Regions from separate parts of the Homo sapiens genome. Here region 1 is linked to region 2. Evidence: promoter capture Hi-C in human tissues and cell types (Jung and others, 2019). All regions are on one chromosome and are shown on one strand. The core of a region is centred on a gene start or on the middle of the fragment in contact, and the rest is flanking DNA. Distances in the headings are between cores, read along the strand shown. Region 1 holds the start of SNORD97 (small nucleolar RNA, C/D box 97). Region 2 holds the start of GALNT18 (polypeptide N-acetylgalactosaminyltransferase 18).

What was found. Contacts are between HindIII fragments. The study calls those that stand out against the background at their distance.
Region 1: a contact is called between a fragment that was not itself captured here and the fragment with the promoter of GALNT18 in region 2, in 1 of the 25 tissues and cell types used here (aorta).

What each region holds. Positions count from the first base shown.
Region 1 is chr11:10,797,117-10,804,413 of GRCh38, forward strand. EIF4G2 (eukaryotic translation initiation factor 4 gamma 2) reads right to left here. Exons shown (of 22, transcript NM_001418.4): 6 at 7,171-7,297; 7 at 7,021-7,087; 8 at 6,783-6,934; 9 at 6,364-6,474; 10 at 6,095-6,178; 11 at 5,914-6,012; 12 at 5,178-5,319; 13 at 4,933-5,093; 14 at 4,545-4,658; 15 at 3,846-3,971; 16 at 3,615-3,719; 17 at 3,316-3,531; 18 at 2,974-3,232; 19 at 2,436-2,640; 3 more. The coding sequence ends at 700. It overlaps SNORD97 (small nucleolar RNA, C/D box 97), which reads right to left and starts at 4,492; the gene lies at 4,351-4,492. The HindIII fragment of the contact is 4,428 bases long and covers 2,929-7,297 here.
Region 2 is chr11:11,620,723-11,628,106 of GRCh38, forward strand. GALNT18 (polypeptide N-acetylgalactosaminyltransferase 18) reads right to left here and starts at 1,283. Exons shown (of 11, transcript NM_198516.3): 1 at 637-1,283. The coding sequence starts at 871. RefSeq lists enhancers at 1-133, 1-25, 766-815, 1,026-1,105, 1,223-1,723 and silencers at 306-375, 396-475, 1,226-1,585. The HindIII fragment of the contact is 13,654 bases long and covers 1-6,655 here.

The DNA of each region.
Region 1 (7,297 bases), core at 3,893-6,392, 820 kb before region 2:
ATAAATTAAGTAGACTTAATTTCAATACTATAATAGGAGGGACCAATTCAAATTCTCACCATTTGTTTCACACCCACAAAAACCACTTCAAGGGCATTAACGATCTCTCAAAACTGATCAGTTTTGTGCAAGTAAACCATGTTTCTTTTAAAAAGACTTGTGCACTTGCCCAGGCTCAAGGATATTAAAATCTAGCACATAAAGCCCATTACTAGAGGTAGAAATACAGGCAATATACTATTACGGCAACAACCATCAATTACAGTTAAGAATTTTTCTGTAACAACCAAATGGATAATCAAATATTGCAACAACTCAAGTATTACTGAGCAAAGTGCATTTCTACAGTATTCAGTGTTGCTATTCAGTTTTCTAACTTAAAACAGCCTATGATAACTGGCAGCAAAGAAGGTCCTTGCAATAGACTGCCTCTGCTTGAGAACTTATGATGTAATTATTGCATGCTGCTAATATACTATCTAAACATTAAAGATACTCCTAAAATATTTGATGGTAGACTATGATTAAGACATTACACTACAAAAAAACCTTATGCAGAAGGAAATCCTAACTGACGTGCTTCTGCTTTAAATATTGTGAAAACATTACAGCGGAATGAATTTTCGCAGTGGTTAGGTCAAATGCAGTTACATCATAGCAACAGTATGTTTTGCACAATTTAAGGCTTTGGCTGGTTCTTTAGTCAGCTTCTTCCTCTGATTCTTCTTCTTCAGCAGTTTCTAACCAGGTTAGCCACTGATTCACCTATAAATTAAGATTTGTAAATTAAAATAGTTCATGATATAAACAGAAATCCATCCAAAAAGTTTTAGGTGGTACTACACAGTTTTAGAATATGAAACAAGGATATCCCTACCAACAATTTGTATATTAAGTTAACGAACAGTGGTATATTATCCAGATTTGGGACAACACAGAGCTAAAGATTTAATCCTGCAAGGATGATCCTCGTGAATCTTGTTTATCATCAGCAATAAAAAGGTAGGAAGATGCTGCAGGACCAATGTTTCTCAAGCCTGGGCCCCCTGGAAAACTAGTAGCATGAGAAAGAATCACCTGGATTTTGTACCACAGACCTACTAAACCAGAATCTCTAGGAATAGGCCTGGAACCTGCTTTTTAAACTGCTCTTCAGGTGATTTGAGAGAATGCCCTGATGTTCTTCCCCTAGGGCTACAAGTTCATTCAATAAGAAAAAATCAAATTGTGAGAAATCAGAAACATCTCCTCTTTTTAGAAAAATATATAGTATTTAAACTTTTTTTCTTTTTTTGAGACACAGTCTCACTCTGTTGCCCAGACTAGAGTGCAGTGGTGTGATCTCAGCTCACTGCAACCTCTGCCTCCTGGGCTCAAGACATCCTCCCGAGTAGCTGGGACCAGGACCACAGAACATGTCACCACGTCTGGCTAATTTTTTGTATTTTTTAGAGACAGGGTTTCACTATGCTGCCCAGGCTGGTCTTGAACTCCTGAGCTCAAGTGATCCTCCCACCTCAGCCTCTTAAAGTGCTAGGATTACAGGCATGAGCCACGTGCCCAGCTACAATTTCCTCTTTACTGATGTTTTTAAAAAAGCTTAAATCGAAACTTGTACAGTCACTCCCATGTATATAAGTAGCTATACTCCTTGAAAAGTTAGCTACCTCTAACATCTTATACACCACTAGAATTGATTCATTGTGTAGCTTTACTTAATAATAGCTTCAAATAGTGCAGAATGAAATGTACAGGTGAAGACAAACTACTAACTAGGACTACCTTGCCTGTATTTCAGTTGAAAAAGGCTCTTAACTTGAAGTTAATACCAAGCAAACTGAAGTAAGCAGACCAAATTTTTAACAAAAGACTTACCTGGAACAAAGCCTTGCCTTTTCCCGGAAACTCTTGGGTTATATCTTCTTTCCAAGCCAAGAAAGCTTCTTCTTCAATAATTTCCATGTCATAGAAGTGCACAAAAAAGCGAAGTAACATGCCTTAAAAAAAAAAAAAAAAAGAAAAAAGTAATAAGCCCATTATTTAGTGTTCTGTTTAAGAACTTCCTCACGCCGTTCTTCTGATACAAGTCCTCTCACCTTTTGGGAAGTTGCTGTTATAGCAGTGCACCTGGAGAGCATACAGGGCACTGACTTGTAGATCAACGTGATCATGAAGAAATTTCTGCATTACTGGCTTGAAAGATAGTAGTAGTTGTTTTTCCTGCTCTAACTGTTCTTTGGAAGGAGCAGAGGATGAATCTGTTTCATCGCTGGGGGGGTTTACTTCACTAGAAATGTACTGTAAGAAGCTGGACAGAAAGAGGTCTTGTTAGAACCCAACAGTGAGTTTTCTTGCTCAAGAGACAACTCTTAGTCTCCTACGCTTCTTTTCCAGTACATGAAACATTACCATATGCAGAAAACCATTCGTCTTACCTAGTCATTAAGATGTTCACAAATCCTTTATCTACATGAAGTTTGGGAGAGATGTTATCTTTAATCCATTTATATATGGTTTGAGGGGATGGATCCAACTTTATTTGCTTCAACAGTTCCTTCTCCAATTTGAGGAGTGGGAATAAGAAACTCAGTCCCTTTCCTTCCAAAATCTCCAACATGCGGTCCTTATTCTGATCAATTTCTGAAGAGACAAAGCCACCTGCATCATCTAATAGTTCATTTTACCAAGTTGTCCTGTCCAGAGAGCAGAGCTTCACAAATGATGTCCCCAAGTATGTAAGATCCATGTAGCAGAATAGAGAACCAACCCAGCAAATGAAAAAAACTCAACATACGGATCAAATGAAAGTAGTTAAATTATAAATCTCTCTTTATAGGTGAGATCTGTGGTAATGTTTATCATTATCTGAGCAGGACAATCAGACTGTCTGACCTACATAAATCCACTCAAGGTACCTGAAATCTCTAGATATAATATTAAAAAAACAAAACAAACAAGTCAGCATTCTCTTACCTGGGAGCATTTTCTGCATATTGACCTTGCTTTGTTGAAAAAGTTCTGTTAACCATTCTCGATCTTGTAATTTAGCTAACTGCTGAAGACAAAGTAGGAAGAGAGGAAAATGGGTGCCACTTTCTAGTGGTTGAGCTAGTTCTGAAATGCTCACCAGCTCTGAAATGATGGCACGAGCTGCAAACTGTGCTAAATAGGATTTCACCAAAGGGATGTCAACCTCCAGTTTGGGACACTGGTCCAATACATTCAGGAAAGCCTTGAAAGAAATATACAACAGTTTATCAGTTTTCGAATTTGAGTGGTAAGAGTTCTTACCACACAATCAGTAAAGTGTCCTACCTGCATGAAGTTGTCACTTGTGGCTATCCCTTCCTGTTTGAGTAAACTGATCAAAGAACTTGCTTTTTCTTTATCTTCATCGCTTCTATCTAGTGACAGGATGATTACTTTGCTTAACATCTCAGGAAGAAAGTGTTTAGGAGCCCTCATTTCTCTTACACCATTGACAGCCTCATTTGCATTTCCACTATTTAGATATTCAGTCACAACAGTTTCCTGTGAAGAACACAAGTATCTTTAATGTATTCTCTATCTCAAATACAGGCTAATTACACTAAAATGGGATATTTGAAACTTACAGTTAGTTTAAGGAGTTCTTCCTTTGACGGTGGTGGCTTTTTGCTGGTCTTGGCAGGCTTTTCCTGGATAAGCGGTGGATTAGTTTTGAGACCAAGCTGAGGTGTCTAAAAAACAAGCAATGACAGACTTTTTTTAAAAAGAGGACTATGAAATTAGGGGGAAGAACACACTAAATTTAGAAAAAAGTCTTCAGATATCTTTAGAAAATGCTGTCCTACTATGGTCTGTACCTGTCCCAGAGGTGGTGTTTGAGTGCGTGGTGGTTGTGCACTAGGAGGAATCATAGTTATCTGGGGCTGAAGCTTTGGCACTTGATTTTTATTCATTAGGAACGACTGAGCAGGCCTCAGGCTAATCTGGAATTGAAAACAAAATATATCTAAATTAACAACATGCAGTTGGCGAACATATTAAATACAACATTCTAAAATCCTATACAGTGACAGAATCTAGGGAAACATTAAGCTTTTTGAAAAACTAAAGAAGGTACTCCACATTAACAGGTTTAATTTTTGGCAAAAAATTTAAAGATCTGATGCATACAGTAGTAAGATACTATTATAAATCTTACATTCTCTTAGAATTAGCATGACTAAAATATTCAAATAAAAAACTGCAAATTTAACTACAGTTTAGAAAATGCCCTGTTTTATCCTTAGTTAAATCACCCTTACAAAGAAAGAAACCACAATATTTTGACAACCAGTTTTCTTGCTCTAACAGACTTTAGGAGACTTGCCCTCATATCTCATAATCTTCGCTCACAGGACGCTGGACATTCAAAGAAAGAAAAAGAAGTATAGAAAAGAGAGAAAAACGTCAAGAACTCCAGCATAAAGTCCTCTTAATAACGCGTCTTTTTATAATCATCGGGCAATAAATTTCTGAATGGACAAACTATGGTATATAAGTAACATAGGCAAATGTACCTCATCTGCATTAAGCTGTCCTTTCTTAGAAAACCGAGGTGGCATATCCTTCGACTGTCCTTGCAGCTGGGATAAGAGTCCCTGACTCTGGTTATGGTAGAGCTGGCTTAGCCCCTATTTCAGAAAAGGAGAAAGAAAGTCTAGATAAAAAGGGGTCCACAAATTATGGTAATCAAGTACCAAAGGGATGAGCCAAGCCATAAAGTTAGTTTAACTGAATTTGCCCAGAGAAAGTAAAAGATGAAACAGGGAAGAATAAAAATCTAACCTATCAAATAAAGTGATGTGATTTTACTAATACTTTACTAATCTTAAGGATAAACATTTCAGTTTGAAATAAATGTTGCAGATAAGGTTTAGAAAACATGCACACTCAAATATTACTTACCTGGCTTTTCATAAACTTGCCTCCCATCTCTCCAAACTGCGATTGTGTGGGAGGCATGATGTGTCCCCCATGGCCATTGAAGAGTTGATTTGAACGATGACGTCCCATGGTGGGTGAAAATCTATCCTGGATAACTCCTGGACCAGTACCAATTCCGCTACCTTAAAATACATATACGGACAACTCTCAAAACTAAAGTTAACTGATTTTTCAGCTTAACGCAACCATTGTTTTTTCAAAATTACCTGGCATTTGTCCAAACATATCAGCAAGTCCTCCAAGTGGGTCCCTATCCATTTTCATCCTGGGTGGCATGAACGGTCCCTCCAGAAAGAAGTCACTTCTCATCCCTTGAGCCATAGGAGCAGGAATAAACACCCCTAGATCCTTTAGAAATGAAGTGAATATGCACTTTTTGTCTCTGGACACTATTTCACTTAAAACTAAAATTCTTGCAACTAGGGGGGGAAACCTAGAATATTAAACCATAATTTATGTTATTTCTGTAAATAACTTCTTCCAAAAATGGCAGACAAGGCTGGGCATGATGGCTCACATCTGTAATCCCCCGACTTTGGGAGGCCCAAGCCTTGGTTTGCATGAGGTCAGGAGTTCAAGACAAGCCTGGCCAACATGGTGGAACCCTGTCTCTACTAAAAATACAAAAAATTAGCGGGGTGTGGTGGCGCACGCCTATAGTCCCAGCTACTGGGGAGGCTGAAGCAGGAGAATCACTTGAACCTGGGAGGCAGAGGCTGCAGTGAATCGAGAATGCGCCACTGCACTCCAGCCTGGGTGACAGTGCGAAACTCCGTCTCAAAAAATAAAAAAATAAAAGTGGAAGACGAGACACTAAAAACATTAAGCTCCACCACTAAGATGAGACAGACCCCTCAAGCGTTTGGGGTGGGTGAGGAGGAAACCCATTCTATTCTACACACACAGAGTCTATGTGACAAACAAAACAAAACCCAATCTTACTTTTACTGCATCTTGACGAATTTGATTGATCGTCTTTGGTCCATTGTCAAGAAAAGCCTTGCGAGGAACCCAATGGTGTTCTCGCAACTCTACGGTATCCTTTAATTGAAAAATAATTTTATTTTAATATTCCTAAACCAAAAACTCAGCTTACCAACAAATTTAAAGAAACCAGTATTACCTGCAGCAGGAAACGAATCCTTGCTGGCAATTCCTTACTTAACATCAAGGAGCACATTCGGGCAAAGTACTGATCCATTAAGGACTGATAAGAGAAGAATACATTCATTGGAAGAGCTAAAGCAAATGTGTTCAATTTACAGCTTTAAGACTTCTAAAATTATAACCCAGTTAATGGCTAAATATGGCAATCCCTTATGATGTCACAAAAATCAATAGCTTGATTTAAAGACAAACTACTTGTACTACTTTCATCAGCTACACACGTACCTTGGCTCGTTCATGGTCTAATCTAGGTCCCACTGTCCTCATTATCTGACAGAGGCACTCCAAATCCTCTCCCATATCTTTGAGTTGGACTCTCTTCTTCTTTTCCAAAAGCTACAAGAATAAAAGGCCATGGTGACAAAGTTTTAGTTACTCTGGTTTAGGCGTAGTACTTTCTTTCCCTTTATGTTTGCACTGACTCATTCACAGTTCCTACAGAATCTAGTATAGGGCTTTCTACCAGTCTGGTTGATCAGTTCTAACTCTACTTTGTCAAACACACCACGTATTTCAAATTATTCTGTTTAGTAAATTTTGTTGCACATCTGTATTTAACTAGTCAACCTCCCTCTTAGATGAATAATTGACTCATTTCCTCCAAACGACTGACTACATTCGCCTAACTTCCCTGTCACACTTACTGTTTTGATGCACTTATGAAGGATAGATTCGTGAATAAGATCAAGCTTGCCAAGCTCTCCAATGAATTTGATGTTTCCCAACATCTTGATCTTAGCAATGGCTCTCTGTTCCTCCTCCTCGGGGAGGAGGGGATTTTCACGCTTATCATAGACTGAAAAAGATACCAATGAAGTAAGCCAACATTCAGAATTAAGCTGAAAATATACAGTAGTACTTATTATCAGCTATAAGTCTTACCATCAACATTTCTAGTTCGGTTTTCAAATTCATCTTGTAATTTGGAAATTAGGAGGCGTCTGAATGTCTGGAAAAGAAGACATTGTCATGCTTTATTAAGGAAATTTTTCAAGTCAACTTTAAAACAAGCAAACAAAAACTACCACTTACGGTGCTTTGCTTCTGTCCTGGTTGACCCTCTGCTGCTGGGCCATCAAAGTTTGGTGCATCTTCTGCCAATCGCAGACATAGCTGAGCATACAGTGAGCTATACTTTGGCTCTTCTAGGGCTTTGTCC
Region 2 (7,384 bases), core at 33-2,532:
CCCGCGGGCTGTGGTGGGGGTAGGGACTGCTATAGGTTCAAGCGGCTTTTCAACCACAGAGGGCTCCTTGCATTCCCTATCGCCTACCAACGGGATCACAGCAAGACTGGGGCTGGGGCTGATACAACGCAATTTTCCTAGCCTCGCTTGTCCGGCAGCCTGCGGGTCTTAACTGCCAATAGTCAGGGCCGCCGCGCGGGCATCTCGCCTGACGCCTACAGTGGCCAAAAAAGCTCGTTTGCCCGCGCGTTCCCTCTTGTACACACACAGACATTCACATGCACACACACTCTGAGCCGGACTTGTGTGCGATCCCGAGAGCCCGCGAGCAACCAGCCCAGAGTCACACGCACATTTGGACACGTGCGCAGCGCGCCCCCATACCGCCAGCTAGCTGCACACATCCGCTCGTGCAGCCCTGCGCACACACGTGTGCCCCGGGGAAGAGCGCACGGCCGCAGACAGAAGGTCCCGAACGCAGGCAGGAGCTCACACGCAGGCCCCACGACTACCACGCATCTGCGGCCCCAGAGCCCCGCCGTGGCTGAGTTGATGCGCACCAGCCCCAGCGCACCCCGCGCCGCGCGGGGCACTCCCGGGCCTCATGGGCGACCCAAGTTTCCGGGGCGCCCGTACCTTGAATGTGCTGCTTGATGACATTCTCCAGGTGGTCCAGCCGCTCAATAATCTTCAGAGTGTCCCCTTTGTCTTCCTCCAGCTTCTTGTCGGGCGCCGGCTCCTGCCCCCGCACATACACGCTGGCGATGTAGTTGGTGACCCAGCCCACGTAGAGCAGGCAGATGATGTTAGTCATGCCGCTCAGGATCACGCAAGTGGACACCAAAGTTTTGGTCTTCCTGGTGCACACCATTCTGGGCTCCTTCCTCCATATAGAGCTCCCGGGGGCCCTTCCTTGTCGTGCGCCCCGAACTCCCCCGCGCTCGCACCCCGTAGCACGTCCGGAGCCGCTGGGCACCTCAGCACCTGAGTCCCGAGGTTCTCCAAAGCCCGGTCCGCTGCCGGTGTAGCCGCCGTGCCCAAGTTTGCAGCTCCTGCCGCTGGCCACCCGGAGAGACCTTGACAAAGGAAACCAGGTGGATTTTTTTCCAAATTAAAAATCCCTGAACCCTTCCTAGAGGGGTCACGGGTAGCCGGCAGCCGCGCGTCCAGATGTGTACGTCTGGGAAACTTTGCCACTGCCTGTGTCGGCGGCCACGCCGCTTCCCATCGCCAGCGCCGGCTGCCTTGGCGGTCCGACCGGCCCGCGCTGCTAGGAGAACAGCGGCAGCGGCAGCGGCGGCGGGGAGAGCCGCGAAGCAGAGCGGCCCGGCCCCCTCCGAGCGACAAGCGCTGCCACCAATCGCGCTCCGGCTCGGGAGAGGGGCCGGTGCTGAGCGGCAGCGGACCAACGGGGAGGGAGCGGGGGGCGGAGTCCAGCTCCCAGGCCCCACCTGCTGGCCGCCCCTGGCTCCCGCCCCCAGGGACGCGCCCGGGCCTCCACCCGCGCCTGCACAGGCTGCCCCAGACCTGAAGCTCCCGGAGAGGGCGCGCTGCCAGTCCCAGCCCTTAGGTCGGCAGCTTCCTCCGTTAGGGGAATTCCATCTCTTGCTCTTGGGCAGGAATCTCCTGGTTTTGTGGAGGGGGTGGGGGGTTCGCACGGGTCAGCTTCTTTCATCCGCCCGGGGCTTCTCGCATTGGTGCCACCAGTCGACTCCTGGAATCTTTTCTTGGTTGCCAGGACGCTGAGAAGCCAAGGAAGTGCCAGCCCCAGCGGCATCCACTCCTTCCTTGGCCTCACTTGGGCCTCCACCCTGCCCTCTGCCCTTCAGCCACCGGCCTCCTGAGTGTGTCCAGACCTGGCCCTAAACCTGGCTGAAAGGAGCCAACCCTCCGGCAACCTCCCAGAAGCAACATTGGTGACCTATTAGATGACTCTCTCGACCACTTCTTCCCCCCCCCCACCCCCCACCCCCCACCCCCACCGCCTGCCCCAATTTTTGCCCCTATCTAGGTTTTTCTTTAAGTCTGTACAGCTCCCAGGACATGGATGTGTCCTTTAAGCCCAGTTTTCATTTATGTGGAACCAGGGTCATCCAGTGCATAAAGAAACCCTGCAAGGAAGTGCCGCTGAGGGGAACTGAGGTCTGTGAACTGTAAAGCCCTTCTACATGTTGTTTATGATTGCTATCATAGAGGGCGGTGGGAGAGACCTGTGACTGAGCACAGGAGGAGGCCAGACGCAGACAGTGATACTGCTGTGTTTGTTCTTACTGCCAATGTTTACTCATATTATCCTCTTCTGCTGAACACCCCGTTCTCAGCACCTGAACGGAATTCCTTTAAACAAAGACTTTTTACAACATAGATTTCCTGCCTCTTCTCCATCTCTGAGTTGCTTTATTTTTTTGGCCTAAGCCAGGGAGGCAGCCTGCTGCATGCCCACTTTGTTGTGTGCCAGCCTTCCAACCAGCCACAGAAATACTCAGGGCAGCTCCATCCTGGGATATCTTCTGGATTCAAATGACTGGCCCCACAAGAGAGGGAGAGCACAAAACCAAAGAAAGGGCACTTTATGGCCCCATCAGCCAAGGGCCCTTCTACCAATGCTTTGTTTACAAAACCTCCCCAAAGATGCTATGAAAACAGATACCAACTAGGGACCCGGGAAGATTTCCCTTGATCCATAGCTGGAAGAGAGAACAGTGGGTGTGGGTTGGCGTGGGCTGGGGTATAGAAGGGGGAGAAGAATCGTGTGTATGGTATGTAGGAGATACATACATGAGAGGAGAGAATGTACACAATTTCTGAAAAAATCAAGGTAGAGAAATCTGCCTCCAGGAGGGAGTAAAACTTGTCTCTCCCTTTTTTCTCTTCCAGAGGTATAATCCAGCTCACAAATAAAGGATCTGAACTTTCTTCTGGTTGGACAGACTTACAAGCAATGCCCTTGAGTACAGGCTAAGGTGTAATCTTTCCTTCTGTTCTGCCCCCTCTCCCAGGAGGAGCCCTGGAAGTTCAGCCCTTCTTGGGATCTTCCTAAACCACCACAGGACTAGAAAGAGAAGGCAATACTCATTCTTTTCACATTCTTAATGGAAAAAAATTAAATCCCAAGTTTAAAAAAATGAGGGTCAAGAAGAAAACAAAGTGAATTGTGTGATCTTAAATTTTGTACAGCTGATCCTCTAAGATAATGTGTAACTGTAGAGGGGATGAATACAACAAAAGAAGAATGCTGAACAGGTTCTCCTCTCTGAAAAGTCACAGGTTTGAGTTGACCTGTTCAAAGAATTTTCTCTGGAGGTGCAGGCAGACTCCAGGGTTCTAATCCCAGATCCACCATGTATTAGTTATGAGAGCCTGGACACATTTCAAAAAGTCAGTAGGGCTCAATTTCTCCCATGTATCAAATGTAGGTAGACAATACCTTACTGAGGACAGGCTGTGAAAATTAACTGAGAGAATGTTCCAGAAAGGGCTTTAATTAGTGCAGGACACATAGTGAGTGGTTAGGATCATGTGAGTTTCCTTCCAGATATGGTCACTCCCTTTCCAGGCCAGAGCTCAGCTCCGTGACCTCCATCCTGCTGTTTAGCAATACTTGGTTTCTCTACCTACCAGTATCAGCCCTCTCTCCCCTAATGGAAGCTAACAGGAACTAAAGCTATGAGCACCAAGGGGCTCATCTCATCGTCGCTAGCTGGGCTCCAGCACATTGGCTTTCTATTCATAATGTCTGTCTTCACCATCAGTAGTACAATGATCTGCATAGGTTGATAAAATATTCAAAATGAAAGGCTGGTTTCTTCAAGGTACTGGTCACCCCCAGTACCTTCAACTTTTCCACTCAAGACCCCTAATCCCTTGGTTGCAAACAAAGGAAGTGGGAGGGGGCATAAAGGCTTTGCTCACAAAGATTTTGCAGTCACAGGTCAGAAAAAAGTCTCTTTGCAAGCTCCCTCGTAAACAATACCTGGGTAGCAATTCATACCTTTAGTCCTGAATTCAGTTACCATACATCCAATCCTACAAGTAATGGTTGTGCTCCTGAGGTTTTGTGTAAATGACCAGTTGTCCTAGCCTCTGCCCATTTTGCTCCAGATAGGTAGATCCAGTCTGAGTTTCATTGTGTCAATACGGGCCTCTTTTCTGAGCTCAGGAAGCTGCTAAAAATCATCCTTGGATTGTAAGGATGTTTCTGATTCCCAAGTTCGGTCATTTATCTAACTCCTAAGTGTTTCCTCTCCTTTACTTTAAATAAATCCTGCCTCCTGCTGGGGATCATTGTGAGGAGTTAATCAGATAATAGGTGTAAGCAGGCCTAGCAGAGACTCCAGTACAACGTAGTTCTTCAAACTTATCCTGAGAGTTAGAATCTAGGGTCTCCTTTAACTCCTGCCACAAGAGGAGAGTGAGTGCCTTGAGGCATATACAATGGGGCTGAAGATTCTTGATAAAGCTTATCTACTACAGCCTCTGGATTTCACCCATCTTTTACATTGGGTAGGCAGCTCTTCTCTTGATGTGACTGAGGGCGAGCTGAATAGGACTTCCTACGCATAAGTACCACCACACTGTGACTCCCCCAACACTAAGCCTTCATTCAAAATACCTTTGATACTAGAGTTAGAGAAGGCCAGTCACTAATGGAATTCAGCCACCAACTGATTACATTCTGCATAGGGTACCCTGACCTGAGGTTTAAAGACGAACAGTGAACCAGTCTTGGCCAATGGCCATTCACTCTTCAGAGAGGGTTGTCAGTGGTCATCTGTACCTTCCAGATGGCAGCACCATGCAAAGCCTTGGGGCCAGAGTGTCAGGATTTGGGGGTGCTAAAGGATAAAAACAGGCCTGGATCATGGAAAGCCTCAATCCCTGTGCTGGCTGCATGGGAATTGGGGTTGCCAGGTTCCTAGGAGAACAGGGATTGTTGGCACTTCCAGCAAGGATGGATGTATGGTTCAGAGACAAAAGCTACAGAGGAAAAGTAGGGCCAAGATTGGATTTTGCCAAGCTACAGGTCTGAGATATCATTAACAAAAAAGGCACACTTCTTGGGGAGGGATGGTAAATGAAGAGAGAAACGTTTGTTTAGTGCCTACGTTGTACCAGGCCTAGTGTTTTTCATGTTCTCTCTTGAGCACAGATTACGGAGCCAGACAGCTGGGTTCATATCTCAGTTCTGCCGTTTATTAGCAGTATGATCTTGGGAAAATTCCTTAACCACACTGTGCCTCAGTTTATTCATCTGTACATGGAGATAATACTGATACTGCTTACCTCACGGAGAAGTTGTGAGAATTCAATGAATTAATGTGTACAAAGCACACTAAAGGCACTACATGTATTGGCTATTGTCATTATTGCTGTCTCTGAGCACCAGAGTATCTAACATGCAAATGAATGGAGGGAAGACAAGCCACCCAGAGGGCACTTTCCTCTAACTAGGGGCAAAGGGTCCTCTTGCTCCTCTTCTGTCACCCTATTTAAGGATCCAAAACAACTCCTAGCTGAGTTACAGGGCAAACCCTGGCCGGAATCCAGCAACAAGACCCATCTAACCCTCTGTCCATTGATTCATCCACTAAATATTTTCTGAGTGCCTGCTCTGTGCTAGACCCAAAGCTGGGTACTGGCAATACAGAGGTGACTCACAGACCCTCATCCCTGCCCTCAAAGAGATCACTGTTGAATGGATGAGGCCAAAAAATAAACAACCATAATACAGTAGGATAAGCTCTTTTCTGAGATATTCTATTAATATGAGAAAGAAGGCACAAAAAGTCAAGGGAGGTACCAAATTCCTCCCTAGCAAGTGGTTATGCAACTTCTGAACAGCTTCACTTCCATTCAGTCACTGGACAATGCTGCTGGGTAAAAATTTCTTCTTTAGACCCGGAGGAAAATATTTGCAAGATAGTTAACAGACCAAAGATTGAAAACCAAAATATATAAAGAATTCATATAAGCCACTAAAACAGAGGGGCAAGAATATCCAAATGGAAAAATGAGTCAAGAATATGAACAGACAAGTAGAGAATGTATAAATAACCAATGAACATATAAAAGAGTGAAAAAACTTGTTAAAAAATAAAAATACATTTTAAAACCATAGATATCACAGTTCACCTATCAAATTGAGAAAAACAAATTAATAGGGAAATTTCCAAGTGTTGGAGAAAACGTGGGAAATAAGTACTACTCCCATATTCTGTTGGTAATTGATACAATTGCTTCAGAATGTAATTTGGCAGTAACAGTGAAAATAAAAATGCACATTGCCCTGTGACCTTGTACTCATAGCATGGTCCATGGACCACTGGCATCAGCATCACTTGAGTGCTTATTAGAGAGTCAGTAGATCAGGCCCATCACACACCTACTGAGTCAGAATCTGCATTTTAACAAAATGTCCAGGTGATTTAAATATACATTATAATCTGAGAAGCGATACATATGCAATTGTTAACCATAGCCTTTCCTTGGAAAAAGAACCAGGATTAGAGGTAGTGACCAACTTCTGAACTTTTTATCATGTTTAACTGTAATTCTGAATTTTTACAACAAATATTTCTTAATGTAATGCTTTTGAAATTAGAATTTGTTTTTATTTCAAAAGCGATTCTTCTGGTTGTAGTGAAATCTGCTTTGCATTGCTTGCAATCCTGCTTTGTGACTTGAGCTAGTCTTGTACTATTTTAAGCCTGTTTCTTCACCTGCAAAATAGGGATAATAATCCACACCTAGCAAATAAACCAGTCCAGCCTTACACACCAATGGGCTTTGAGCACATCACACCAAGCACAACTCAACATTTGACATTCGTAATGACTATTCTCATTGGCAGGAAAATGGCCATTCTTTATGCTTTATGGCCATAGAGAAGAGAAAAATACTGTGGGAAGAAGATTTCACCAAAGGGAACAGATACACATGCACACATACACACACAACATACAAGATTCTTGAGCTACTTATGCTGCCCAGAGAAGTGTTTCCCATTGAAACATAAAATAAATCATCAAGGTATATAACCCTGTAGTGAGAACAGGGATGTTATCAGCCACCACTTTATTCCTCACTCGGAGCCATTGTTTGGTTTCATGTATTTGTACATAACTTTTTTTCTTTTCTAGACAGGATTTCAATCTGTTGCCCAGGCTGGAGTGCAATGGTGCCATCATATCTCACTGCAGCCTGAAAGCAATCCTCCCGCCTCACCCCCACAAGTAGCTGGGACTACAGGCACACACCACCATGCCCTGCTAATCTTTTAAAATCTTCTGTAGAGGTGAAGTCTTGCTATATTGCCCAGACTGGTCATGAACTCCTGGATTCAAGTGATCCTCCCACCTCGGCCTCCCAAAGTACTGGGATGACA